Linked DNA regions of Homo sapiens: region 2 is linked to region 1. Evidence: promoter capture Hi-C in 16 types of primary human blood cells and fetal thymus (Javierre and others, 2016). All regions are on one chromosome and are shown on one strand. Each heading gives the region's core, a stretch centred on a gene start or on the middle of the fragment in contact. The rest is flanking DNA. Distances are from core to core; before and after follow the strand shown. Region 1 holds the start of BAHD1 (bromo adjacent homology domain containing 1). Region 2 has its middle 28 kb from the start of CHST14.

Region 1 (6,129 bases), core at 1,673-4,172:
GGGAAGAGCTGGAGGGGACACTGTCTAGGGTCAGACTGCAGGGAACGGGGAGCCATTGCAAGTCTGTGAGAAAGGGAGTGACACCGGGAAGGGGTGTTTTAGGAAGAATGACCTGGTAGCTGCATACAGACTGGATCAGAAGGGCCAAAGGAAGCAGGAGGGAAAGGGAGGCTATAACAACAACACAGGCCTGACACGGGGACAGCAGGACAACAGAAAGGAAGAAAGAGAGGGAGATATCAAAAAGAACCTAATCACTGGCTAAACTCTCCGGAGCAAACCCTCCTTAACACCAGATCCGACTGGCATGAGTCTCCTGCCAGGTAAGAGCCCTACCAAAGAGGGAAATGCTATTTGGGCAACTCCCCTTCATATTCCAGTGGCCAGACCACGTCATCCCCTTCTGACTGCCACCAAAAGAAATCACATGCCGTGTAGCCTCACAGAAGGCACAAAGGCCTTGAGATTCATCATCACTCTCTGGATTTTAGACATGCAATTAAATTATCTCAGAACAAACTTTAGCCTCCTGAGTGAGGTAATACCTACCTTTCTCACAAGCCTCAGCTCCATCCAGGCTGGGGTCTAGATCATTCCAGGGAGGTCCATGGGGGGTGGCCATGAATAAACTCCCATGCCCATGCTACCCTCTGAAGTGGCAGACAAGCAGCTTTCCCAGGTGGGATTACAGCCAACCACAGTTGAGAGCGGCTTCTAACCAGCCCTACCTGAGGTGGGACTCGAACTCAGATTCTCAGCAAAATCCACATTCTGAAACAGCCTGAGTTTCCCTGTCCTTATGATCCCAACTCTTCTTTTGGGTGTGGGGTTCACATGGAGGGCATGGGAGCTCTGAATGAGTTTTTCCAAGCAGGTAAACAACATCCAGCTCACAGCTGGTCACCGGGGGAGATGGAGGCACTCACAGCTTAAGCCAGTGGTTCCTAAGCATCCTCCAAGCTGGCCAAGGACAGTGGTGCCCCTCCAAGACATGTGGTCCCTCTGGGCCCTTTTTCTTTTTTTTTGTGGAAGACAGCGAGGTGAAGAGAGTAGGGAGGAAAGTCTCAGGTGGCACAAAGTAAAAGGACTGGAAAGCTTTTTATTTCATTATTAAATTCCTGCCTGGATTTATAAACTCAGCTTCTCATTTTTCTAAGTGGGTACCTTTGTGGCTAAGGAAAAGTGCTGGAGGCAGCTGCGGAGGGCTGGCGGGAGCCCACGGGGTGGGGTGTCTCTTGTCCTAATCAAACTAGTCTTCTGCACTTCTAACACTGTCGACAATGGGCGACTAGGAGATGTCCCAGGTGGGGTTAGACTTCTGCCTGTAGGCAGACTCTGCTTGTTGAAAAACCCCTCATTCTTGACAGGCTCTACAGCGGCTCACTGGGTCTGTCGCCTCGGTGAGTAGCAACCCCGTCGCCACCAGCCAAGGCACATCATGAGCATACACCCCCACCCCGGCCCCTCGGCCCCCGGCAAGTAGACCCCACTTCCCAGAGCCTCGAGGCCAACAGCGAGCGGCTAGAGCGGCAAGCCAGTGCCGCAGCTCCTCCCGGCGGGCGCCCCGGCCCCCGCAGTCCCCGGGGCAGAGTCCGGCCCCGTCGCCCGCCCCTCGGAGTGGGTGCCTCGGACCCGCTCCCCTCCCCGACGCCACCACCTGCGCCCGCTCCGGCGCCGCCTTTGTCCGGCGCTTCACCGCCAAGCGAGCCCCTCGGGCCCGACCTGACCCGGCCCCCAGCCCCAGAAGAGAGGCGGCGGAGCGAGCAGGGCAAGACCAGGCCGGGCCGCGAGCACAGGGTCCCGCTGTCACTTGGAGGCGGTCTGACAACTTCGATTCCCCCCGCCACACCTCGGACTCGGCCGCCGCCCCGCAAGGTCCCCGCAGGGCCTCCCGCGGCCCACACTCGCTTTTCGAACCGGTCCCCTTCCGTCTTCGGCGCCTCCCTTCCTCTCAGCCCGATCGAGTCGGGTCTACACTACTCCCCCCTGCCGCCCCCGGCCCGGCGCGGCCCTCATCCCCTGCCCCCCATCCAGCAATAACCGGTCAGCTCCCAGCGCGGGAGGGCGCCCCCCACCCTGAGCGGGCGATCCCGCGGCGCCGCCCCCGGCCGCGGCCCCTTGCCTCGGGGACCGCGATGGGGGAGGGGGCGCGGCGGGGGCCTCGCCGCCCGCGCACTCGGAGGCGAGCCGGCTCCGCCGCGGCGAGGAAAGACCGGCGTCCTCCCGCCCTCCGCAGCTCGGGACGCCCGCGCCGCCGCCGCCCGGCCGAGCTGCCACCCTGCGGCCGCCACCCACCCCGCCCCCGGCCTGCAAGGCGGGCGGCCCCCGGGGGCTGTCACCTCGAGGCGCGCCGCGTTCCCCGATGGCGGGACCGTGGTGCCGGACCCAGGGGAGGGAGGTGGCGCGAGCGGGCGGGCGGCCGCACCTGCTTCGCGTCGTCCGTCCGTCCGTCCCTTCCCGGGCTGGCGGGGGCGGTGGCGCGGCGCGCTCGGTGGGGCGCGCTGACGGGCGGCCGGTGCTCTCCCCCTTCGCTCTTCTGCCTACCTCGCTCGCTCCCTCCCTCCAGCTCGCCCCTTCCCCCTCCTCGACCCCGGCCCCTGACTCACCAGAACGGGCGGCGCGGACGGCGCGGCTCTGGGCGCCCGCAGGCCCCGGCCGGGCTGGAATCCGGCGGCTGGAACCCCCCGGGGGCGCTCAATTCCCGGGCTCCACGCTGCTGCGTCAGCGCCTCCTCCTGGGGGCCGGGGCCGGGCGGGCGGAGCGGGGACCGCGGCCGGGCGGGGCCGTCGGGGGGGGCGGGCGCGCCTGGCCGGGGCGGGCGGACGGCGGGGGCCGGACGGGCGGGGCAGGCAGCCGGACGGGCGGGCGGCGGGGGCCGGGCTCCGGGATCCGCTACGCCGCTCGCGGTTCCCCCACAAACTCCCCGAGAGCGGAGCCTCCGCCGCCCTCCTTCCTGCTTCCTCGTCCCCAGCCAATCAGCAGCGCGCCCCTCGGCCAGCTCCGCCAATCAGCCGCCCCGCCCTGCGCTGGCTCCGCCAGCCAATCCGGCCCTCGGCTCCCCCTCCCGGTCTCTGACCAATCAGAACCGTGGGTCGGTCGTCCCAACGCAGGGGGCAGCACGAGGCGGCCGGGGGAGGCGGTGCGGGGAGTGGTGGGGCCTTGGGGGAGGGGTGCCGTGCCAAGGGTGGTGGCAAGGGGTGATTTTCTTTGCCGGCTTCTTGGATTTTTCTCTTCGTCTTCAGAACCTGAGCCCGTATCCCACGGTGACTCGACCCCAATCTCCCAGCTGCTAGCCCCCCCGGAAAAATCTTATCTCCCCCCGCCCTGGCCATCACCCCTCCGCATCCCCTTTCCCCCAAATCCTCCCCAGCACGCGCTGGAGAAAACTGCGGGCCGAGGAACACCCCATCCTCGCCGGAGGCTGCTGCCCCCAGGGCAAAGCTTCAGGAAGACCAGCCGAAAATCAAGCGAGAACAACCCCCCTTTCCTGCAGAAAGGGCCCCAGACTCCTGCAAAAGGGCCCCGACTGCTGAGAAGCCCCTCCCGCCCTTGCCTCATCTTTCCGACTTCCCTGCCTGCCACGTCTCCTTTCCTTTCCAGCAAGGTCGGTCCTGGCTCGGTAACCCCTCACCCGCATCTCTTTTTCCTCTTTCTGCCCTTCACCTACCGCCCCCAACCCCAGCTCCTAATTCACCCTCTTCAGAAGCAGAGTGTGGAGCCCTCATCCATTTCCAGCTGACAGCAGAGCCTGGTCTGTGAGTCCTTGACACCCACACACCCTCTTCCACCACCGCGGGGAACATCAGAGCTCTCCGGGGGAGGGAGAAAGGGGCGGGCAGCCTGACAGGAGCGGCTGGACTCCCTCCCTCGCGTCCCCAAGCTACGGGAGAACCAAGTGTAGACACTTACCTGGCTTCCCCCTAGTCACCAAATGCTGTGGCTCCGTCTCTCACCCCCACAGACGTGCCCTCCCAAGCCCGAGCACGCTCGCGGGGTCAGTGGGGTGGGTGGGCACAGCAGGCTAAGGGCACAGAGAGAGATGGGAAGTCCCTGTTAGGTGCGGGAAGGAGCTGTGTCTTGGGCACCTGGTGGTGCCAGAGCCCGCCTAGGACTTCACTAAGCCCGGGATATGCACACAGTAGGTTCTCGAGAAATGCTGAGTTCACCCCTGAACAAAGCCTCATTCCCAATTCAGGCGGGGGAGGGGAGCTTTAGGAGGTAAAAGGAGCAGCGGCAGAAAGGGTAGTGTCAAGTCACCAGAGCGCTGGAGCAGCCCAGGGAGGGGCTGGGCCCCAGGAACGCCTTGGGCAGAGAGAGGCACCCAGAGTGCTGAGGCTGCCCAGGCAAGCAAGGAAAACCCAGCCTTGGAGTGTGGCCCAGGGGCTTCGGAGGGGCTCCTCCTGCACCACACACAGCGCCCAGCCTTTCCTAGACCTTGGGACTCCAGCGCTCACCCAGGCAGCCTTTTAAGACAATCAGGGCTGCTAGCCAATATGGCTGGGAAACAACCTCCCCCAGAAGCAGTTCCCCATCTGCCTCCAGAGCTGTCCAGGGGGCCCAGACTGTCTTAGCTGTTTGGGGGGACACACTTAAAGGAGGGGCCCCCTCAGCAGGGAAAGTGTGTGAATGGAAGCTAAAAGCTAAAACTGTGGCACGGAAATGTCTCGAAGGTCCAGGTTCTCCCACTGCCACTTCTCCCACCTCCCACCCTTGGGGAAAGCAAAACCCCAAAGCTGTAAAAGTAGGACGCTGAAAGATTTCTCCCCTTCCTGGACAGGACAGAGGTTCCCGGCAGCGCCCCCCCAACACACACCAGGCCAGCCCTACTCCCCACCTCACAGAATTCCCCCTCTCCCTGTCCCAGTCTGGCCCATAGGCAAATTAACCCCACGGTGGCCCCCACTCGTCAGAGATTGGTGGTGGAGGGTACAGCAGTGGTGGCCACGGGGGCAGAGCCATGCTACAGGCCAAGACAGAAGAGAGGCCGGGCTCCTGTCTGCAGCCCAGGCGGCGCTGACCTTGGCAGCCACTTCAGGCCTGATAATGGGCAGGGATGGAGGCCGGGAGGGCCAGAAGAGGAATGTACCTGGTGGCAGGGAAGGAGACCTAAGTGGCAGGAAGCCCACGTTCAGCCGAGGAAATGGCAGCAGGACGAGGTGGCAGGATTGGGTGTCTTCCTGGTGTTGGCATTAGAGGGCCCTGGGGTGAGCAGGGGAGTGTTGTCTTATCTGGGGTCTCAGTGGGAGGGAAAGGAAGGAATACCAACCGGAGAGGAGGCAGAGTAGTCATGACAGCCCACCAAGTGCCTGCCTGGCCGCTGGAGGAGTTCTCCCCTCAGAGCCTCCAGTGTGGGTGGCGGTGTCCGCTGCCCCAGGAGGCTCTGACTGAGTGGGCTATGGTGCGGGGACACGGGCTGGCTAAAGGCACTAAGTGTTCCTCCTGTGCCAGCTCACTGAGCCACCTCTGTCCCCCCTTCCTCCCTATTGCTTGTTAAAACAAGCCAGCAAAGAATAGGCAGGGGCTACACCCTGCCTGTCCCCCAAAGGGAACTTTTGGCCTCTCCTAGCCTCCTTCACCCAACTTTCAGGGACCTCTGCAACTGGGCCTCCTTCTTTCCCAGTCCAAAGCCCTTCCACAGCTGGAAAGGGCTCCACCTCTTCCTCCTTCCTTCGGTCCTGTAACCTTTCCTGAGTGAATGCTGCCTCCACCCCACTTCACTGGGCAGCTGTGCCAACGCCTGGGGCCCATCACCTTTCCTCTCCCTGGTATGTTTGGCAGCCCAGAGGTCTCCCACTGAAAAAAGGGTTTGGCACTTGGTGTAGAAAGAGGAATGGGTCCATCGGGTCTCCGGAGTCTTTCCCGGGCTGCTGCCAGGCAGGGGCTCTCTCTCCCCAGACACCTCCAGACCCATCGGGAAGGGTTAACTGCCTCAGAGGGAGATGCCCTAGAGTAAAACATCCAGGGCCAGAGAGACCACGCGGCGCACCCTTCCCCCACCACACACAACCAGACTGACAGCCGGGACAGACTGGCTGCTCGGTCATCTCCAGCCCAGCCCCAGCACCTCCCCGCCACTGCCCGCTGCAGTCCCCGAAGACCGCCTGGCCTGAGATCCAACCACCTGGCACC
Region 2 (5,792 bases), core at 2,200-4,699, 58 kb before region 1:
CGTGGGCAACAGAGTGAGACTTCAACTCAAAAAAAAAAAAAAAAAAAGTTGTAGCAGGGATGGACAGCTGTTTACCAGACTTCATGCTTTTCTTTGTAGTGTAGTGTATTGCTAGGAAAAAGCTTCCCATCCAGGAACTGTCTTTCCAGCTCCCTTTGTGTCTAGGTGGGACCAAGTGATAAATTCACATGATGGAATATGAACAGAAGTAATTGTGTACCACTTGCAGGCCAGTTTAAAGAAATATGGGCCAGGCATGGTGGCTCACACCTGTAAACCCAGCATTTTGGGAGGCCGAGGCGGGCGGATCACAAGGTCAGGAGTTTGAGACCAGCCTAGCCAATATGGTGAAACCCCGTCTTTACTAAAAATACGAAAATTAGCCTGGCGTGCTGGCGGGCGCCTGTAGTCCCAGCTACTTGGGAAGCTGAGGCAGGAGAATCACTTGAACCCAGAAGGCAGAGGTTGCAGTGAGCCGAGATCATGCCACTGCACTCCAGCCTCGGCAACAGAGCGAAACTCCATCTCAAAAAAAAAAAAAAAAGGAACACGTGTACCTTCTCCAAGTTCTCTCTTTGCTGATTGGCTGCATGGATGACAAAGCCAAGGGGATAATGAAGCTGTGTGATGAGGAATCACCTAGGCATGAATCACCAGAGGAGGAAAGGCACAAGGCACCCAACTGACCAGTAATATTAGCACTGGATTGTTACGGGTAGTAGAAATAAGCTTGTTATATTAAACCTGTTATATGTTGGGATTATGTGTTACAATAGCTAGTGTTACCCACGAAAGAAAACAAAAAATCCTTTCATTGTAAATTGCATTTTCTTGGAATTTAACTTCAATATGGAATGTAGACCAGTCCTCTATTTCAGGTATGTAAATTTGGGCCTTCTGTCCTTATGGAGATTATAATTTAGTTAACTATCTTTAGCCATGTCGTCTTTTATCATTTAGTGACCTGAAGGAATTACAGAAAGTCTAAAATGAAATTTGCATAAAAACATAAGGTAGAAAGGGATAGTATTATGTTCATTGAGAAAATCAGGATCCAAGAGTATCCAGGCTGGAATGATGGGTCAAATAAGAACACAAACTTTACGCATGCCTTAAAATGATATGCTTTCACAGATAGTGGTTTGAAACAGTAATGATTCAGGCATTATTTTGAATTGGAAGATACAACATTTGATGAGTAATGTGGGGGGAGGGAGGGAATTATTTCCACCATGTGCAAGGAAAAAGTGATTCTGTGCTCCACAAGATGAAGGTTATTCTCCAGTTACCTGAATAAAGTATGTGGGTCAGAATGTTTTAAATTGTCATTTATATATTTGAACGGGTTAATTTCTCCAGACATAGGGACTTCTGTCTCCTTGGAAGACTCTGTGTATTTGAAAAACGACAATAAAATACATACGAGAAAGACTGGATTCAAAAGATGAATACTTATAATCTTTTTATATACTAAAACTCACATTTATAGAAAAATGGTGACTCATTCTATGGCAGACTCAGTCTAGGTGATGACCTCAGTGATGAAATAGAATATTGTTCTGAGTGAAATTACCATAACAATAATAAATCATATTTATAGGGCTCCAGAGCAGTGCTGTACAATAGAAATGTAATGTGAGTCACATATATAATTTTAAATTTCTAGTAATCACATTTAAAAAGTAAAAAGGAACAGGTGAAATTAATTTTAGTAATGTATTTTATTTAACCCAGTATATCCAAAATATTATCGTTTCAACATGTATTCAATACAGAAAAACTGAGAAATTTTACATTTTTTCCCACTAAGTATTCAAAATCCAGTGTATTTTTTACACTTATAAAACATCTCAATTCAGACTAGCCATATTCCAAGTTCAATAGCTACATGTGGCTAATGGCTGCTGTATCAGACAGTATAGTTCTAAAGTATTCATCCACAGTTTCATTTAATCTTTGCAGAAATATTTTGCCATAGGTATTATTATTCACATTTTGCACATAATGTTTTCACAGAAATAAGGTAAAGACACACAGCCATAATGGAAGAGCAAGGGCTTGAATGCAACTTAGCTGATAACCAGTGTATCCCAAGGTTACGTGGATTGATGTCAAGTCCAACAGAACTAGCTTCAAATCCTGGCTCTGACATTTATTAGCTGTGTTACCTCAGGCACATTTTTTCACTCTGACACATGGTTTCATTATGGAAAATGTTGATAAGAACCCTAATTGGCCAGGTGAGTGGTTCTCATCTGTAATCCCAGGGACTCAGAAGGCTGAAGCAGGAGAATCACTTGTGCCCAGGAGTTTGAGACCGGCCTGGGCAACATAGCAAGACCTGTCTCTACAATAATTTTTAAAAAAAGGCTGGGCGCGGTGGCTCACGCCTGTAATCCCAGCACTTTGGGAGGCTGAGATGGGCGGATCACCTGAGGTCAGGAGTTGGAGACCAGCCTGGCCAACATGGTGAAACCCCGTCTCTACTAAAAATTTAAAAATTAGCCAGGTGTGATGGTGCACGCCTGTAATTCCAGCTTTTTGTGAGGCTGAGACAGGAGAATTGCTTGAACCCAGAAGGTAGAGGTTGCAGTGAGCCGAGATCACACCACTTCACTCCAGCCTGGGTGACAGAGTAAGACTCTGTCTCAGAAAAAAACCCCAAAAAACAAAAAACTTAGCTGGACATGATGACATACACGTGTAGTCCCAGTTACTCGGGAGGCTGAGGTGGGAGGATGATTTGAGCCCAGGAGTTTGAGACCACATGAGCTATCATCACACCACTGCATTCCAGCTTGGGTGACAAAGACCCTGTCTCTAAAAAAGAAAAAAGAGAAAGAAAAAAAAAAACCTCATAGATTACTGTGGGGTTAAATGGGATCATGCATGCAAAGTGCTCAGCACAGCACCTGCCCCTGGCCAGTGCTCCATGGAAGTGAATGGTTATTGCCTTGGCAACAAGACCCTTTCCACCTTCACACGCTGCTTCCCAGGAGCTTCTCCTTCCATTCCACAAGGGTTCTTTCTCACTATGTGCCAAGAACCAATGTACTGGATGATGGTTCTGACTCCAAGTCTAGCCTCATCCTTCGCATCACAACTGCTTTGTTGTCGTTTTTGGTTAACATATTATCATCTGCCAGTAGCATACAGTATGATGACTTGACAAACTACAAAGCAAACCCAGAAATACGTGAAATCAAACCATACAGTCCAATTCTGAGACCCCCTCCAAAGAGCCCCCTCATGACTTTGGGGATTGCAGGAATACGTGCCACTCAGTGCTCAAACTGCCTGCATCCCTTCTTCAAGCCCTCTGCAATCTGCAAAAGTGAAGGGGGGGAAGCAGTATCCCTAAGCAGGGGCTGGGCATCCTCACAGCCTCCTCCCTGCCTGGCACTGGTATCCTCACCTATCTGCAGTGTGGTAACACGACCCTTTTCCCCCAGAGCCAGGTTGCCCGCAAGCCAGTAATGAAGTGTTTTTTACAACCCTGAAAGAAATACTTTAATAAAGCATGTGGTTGGATTATCGAACCCACAAGTATAAAAATATTGTGGTGCTCACACATGCAATGCATGCTGGTTAGTGACTGCCTCCAAAAATGTTTTACTTGCCATCACAGAGAAACGGGTGTATTGAAGATAAATGTTTTTAAAAGACCGACACGTAATGAAGTGAATCATAGTTCATTCACTCCTTCAACAAATACTGAACCCTACCACGGACCAGATGAGCAGCATGCTGGAGATGCAGTGGTAGGCAAGAAAGACAGAACTGCTGCCTTTGATGACCTCACCTTATAGAGGGGGATATAGACATGCATCAAATATAGAATTACAAGCTGTGGTAAGAGCTACAGAGGAGAAGGACACAGTGATCAGGGAGCAAACCACAGAGATCTGATCTGGTCTGCAGGTCAAAGGAGGCTGCCCAGAAAAGTAATGACTGAGCTGAGGGGGCACAGACTATGTAATAGAATGGGGGTCTAGGGGAGAAGCCTCAGCATAGGGGAGTGTCCAGGGATTATGCTAGGGTCACCTCGGGGTCTGGGATAACAGAACTCTCTATCAAAAACGTCTTTTATCCAGAGGCCCACTGGGTGTCTTGGGAAATGGCAGAGAGGATGCTGGGATTCAAGGTTGGGCTCTGGGGGCCAGGCGCAGTGGCTCACGCCTGTAATCCCAGCATTTTGGGAGGCCAAGGCGGGTGGATCACCTGAGGTCAGGAGTTCGAGACCAGCCTGGCCAACATGGTGAAACCCCGTCTCTACTGGAAATACAAAAATTAGCCAGGTGTGGTAGCACACCCCTGAAGTCCCAGCTACTTGTGAGGCTGAGGCAGGAGAATCACTTCAACCTGGGATGTGGAAGTTCCAGTGAGCCGAGATCACACCACTGCACTCCAGCCTGGGTGACAGAGCGAGACTCCGTCTCAAAAAAAAGGTTGGGATCCTAAATAAGAAAGGTAGAAAAATGCTGCCCCAAACTTCTGAGAGAAGCAAGCTGGGTGGGCAGGAACTCGTCCTAAGGTAGGAGAGCGCTGGGCCACATGAACACCATCTGGAAGAACTAGCTGGTGTCTCGTTCACAAGCCAGACTATTCAAGGTCTGGCCCAGACTCAAGAGAGCTGGGCTTGATGTCAGTGGAGAAACCATCCCTCCTCTCACATTAGCAGAGATGGCAGCTGCAGTTGAATGTCATGAGGGCCAGGGTAGTGGCCCTGTCTCTTTTTGGCAGCCAGAGGCCACAGCAGTAAGAAAAGGGCAGCTATACAGAGTGGTAGACATGGCAGAGGCAGGAGCAGCAAGGGCAGTTTCAGGTGAGAGTGAGTTGGCAGAGTCAGCCCAGTGGAGAGGAGGGGCCCATGGTGCTGAGGTCTCATCCAGTGACTTCAATGTGCTGGGGGCTTGTCTTAGAGATCATGGAATTGTTTTATGTCATTAACTGAGCTGCAGGTTGTCAGATTACGAAAACATGATGTTACAGCTTAGAAAATGTCCAGAATTGGGAGGTAACATGGCTCATAGTCCCTTGAAACAAGTGGCAGTCTCCTGGGGGACATTTTCAACAGCACTGAGTCAGAAGTGCAGTAACACCTGTGACATTCAGGATTTTTTTTTTTTTTTTTTTTTTTGAGACGGAGTCTCACTCTGTCGCCCAGGCTGGAGTGCAGTGGCACGATCTCAGCTCACTGCAAGCTCCGCCTCCCGGGTTCACGCCATTCTCCTGCCTCAGCCTCCCGAGTAGCTGGGACTACAGGCACCCACCACCACACCTGGCTAATTTTTTGTATTTTTAGTAGAGACAGGGTTTCACTGTGTTAGCCAGGATGGTCTCGATCTCCTGACCTCGTGATCCGTCCGCCTTGGCCTCCGAAAGTGCTGGGATTACAGGTATGAGCCATGGCGCCCGGCCGACATTCAGGATTTAAATAAGACCTGGGACATCAAAAACCTCATTTACTGCAGGCTCTGGCTCTTTGGGTGCCTACCACTTCCTCCCTTTTTGTAGATCCATTCATGATTGAGAAATATATCAAAAGAGGCAAGTAGAAAACCTTTATATTTATAGTTATTTAAGGAAATGCAAATACAAACCCACTAAAACATTTTTTATTTTTATTTTTTTAGAGACAAGGTCTTGCTCTGTCATCCAGGCTGGAGTGCAATGGTGCAATCATAGCTCACTGCAGCCTCTAACTGCTGGGCTCAAGCCATCCTCCCTTCTCAGCCTTCTGAGTAGCCAGGACTACAGGTACATGCCATCATCACACCTGGCTAATTTTT

Evidence for each region. The method cuts DNA at HindIII sites, captures the fragments that hold promoters and counts their contacts. A CHiCAGO score of 5 or more calls a contact.
Region 2: a contact is called between a fragment that was not itself captured here and the fragment with the promoter of BAHD1 in region 1, in 1 of 17 cell types (M2 macrophages). The highest score is 5.6, in M2 macrophages.

What each region holds. Positions count from the first base shown.
Region 1 is chr15:40,437,746-40,443,874 of GRCh38, reverse strand. It overlaps BAHD1 (bromo adjacent homology domain containing 1), which reads right to left and starts at 2,922. Exons shown (of 7, transcript NM_014952.5): 1 at 2,607-2,922. RefSeq lists silencers at 1,497-1,566, 1,587-1,706, 2,427-2,486, 2,935-3,120, 2,547-3,216 and enhancers at 1,872-2,371, 2,372-2,873, 3,679-4,216. The HindIII fragment of the contact is 2,346 bases long and covers 1,098-3,443 here.
Region 2 is chr15:40,496,524-40,502,315 of GRCh38, reverse strand. No RefSeq gene overlaps it. Among named protein-coding and RNA genes, the nearest start is that of CHST14, 28 kb to the right of the region's middle. The HindIII fragment of the contact is 5,436 bases long and covers 732-5,792 here.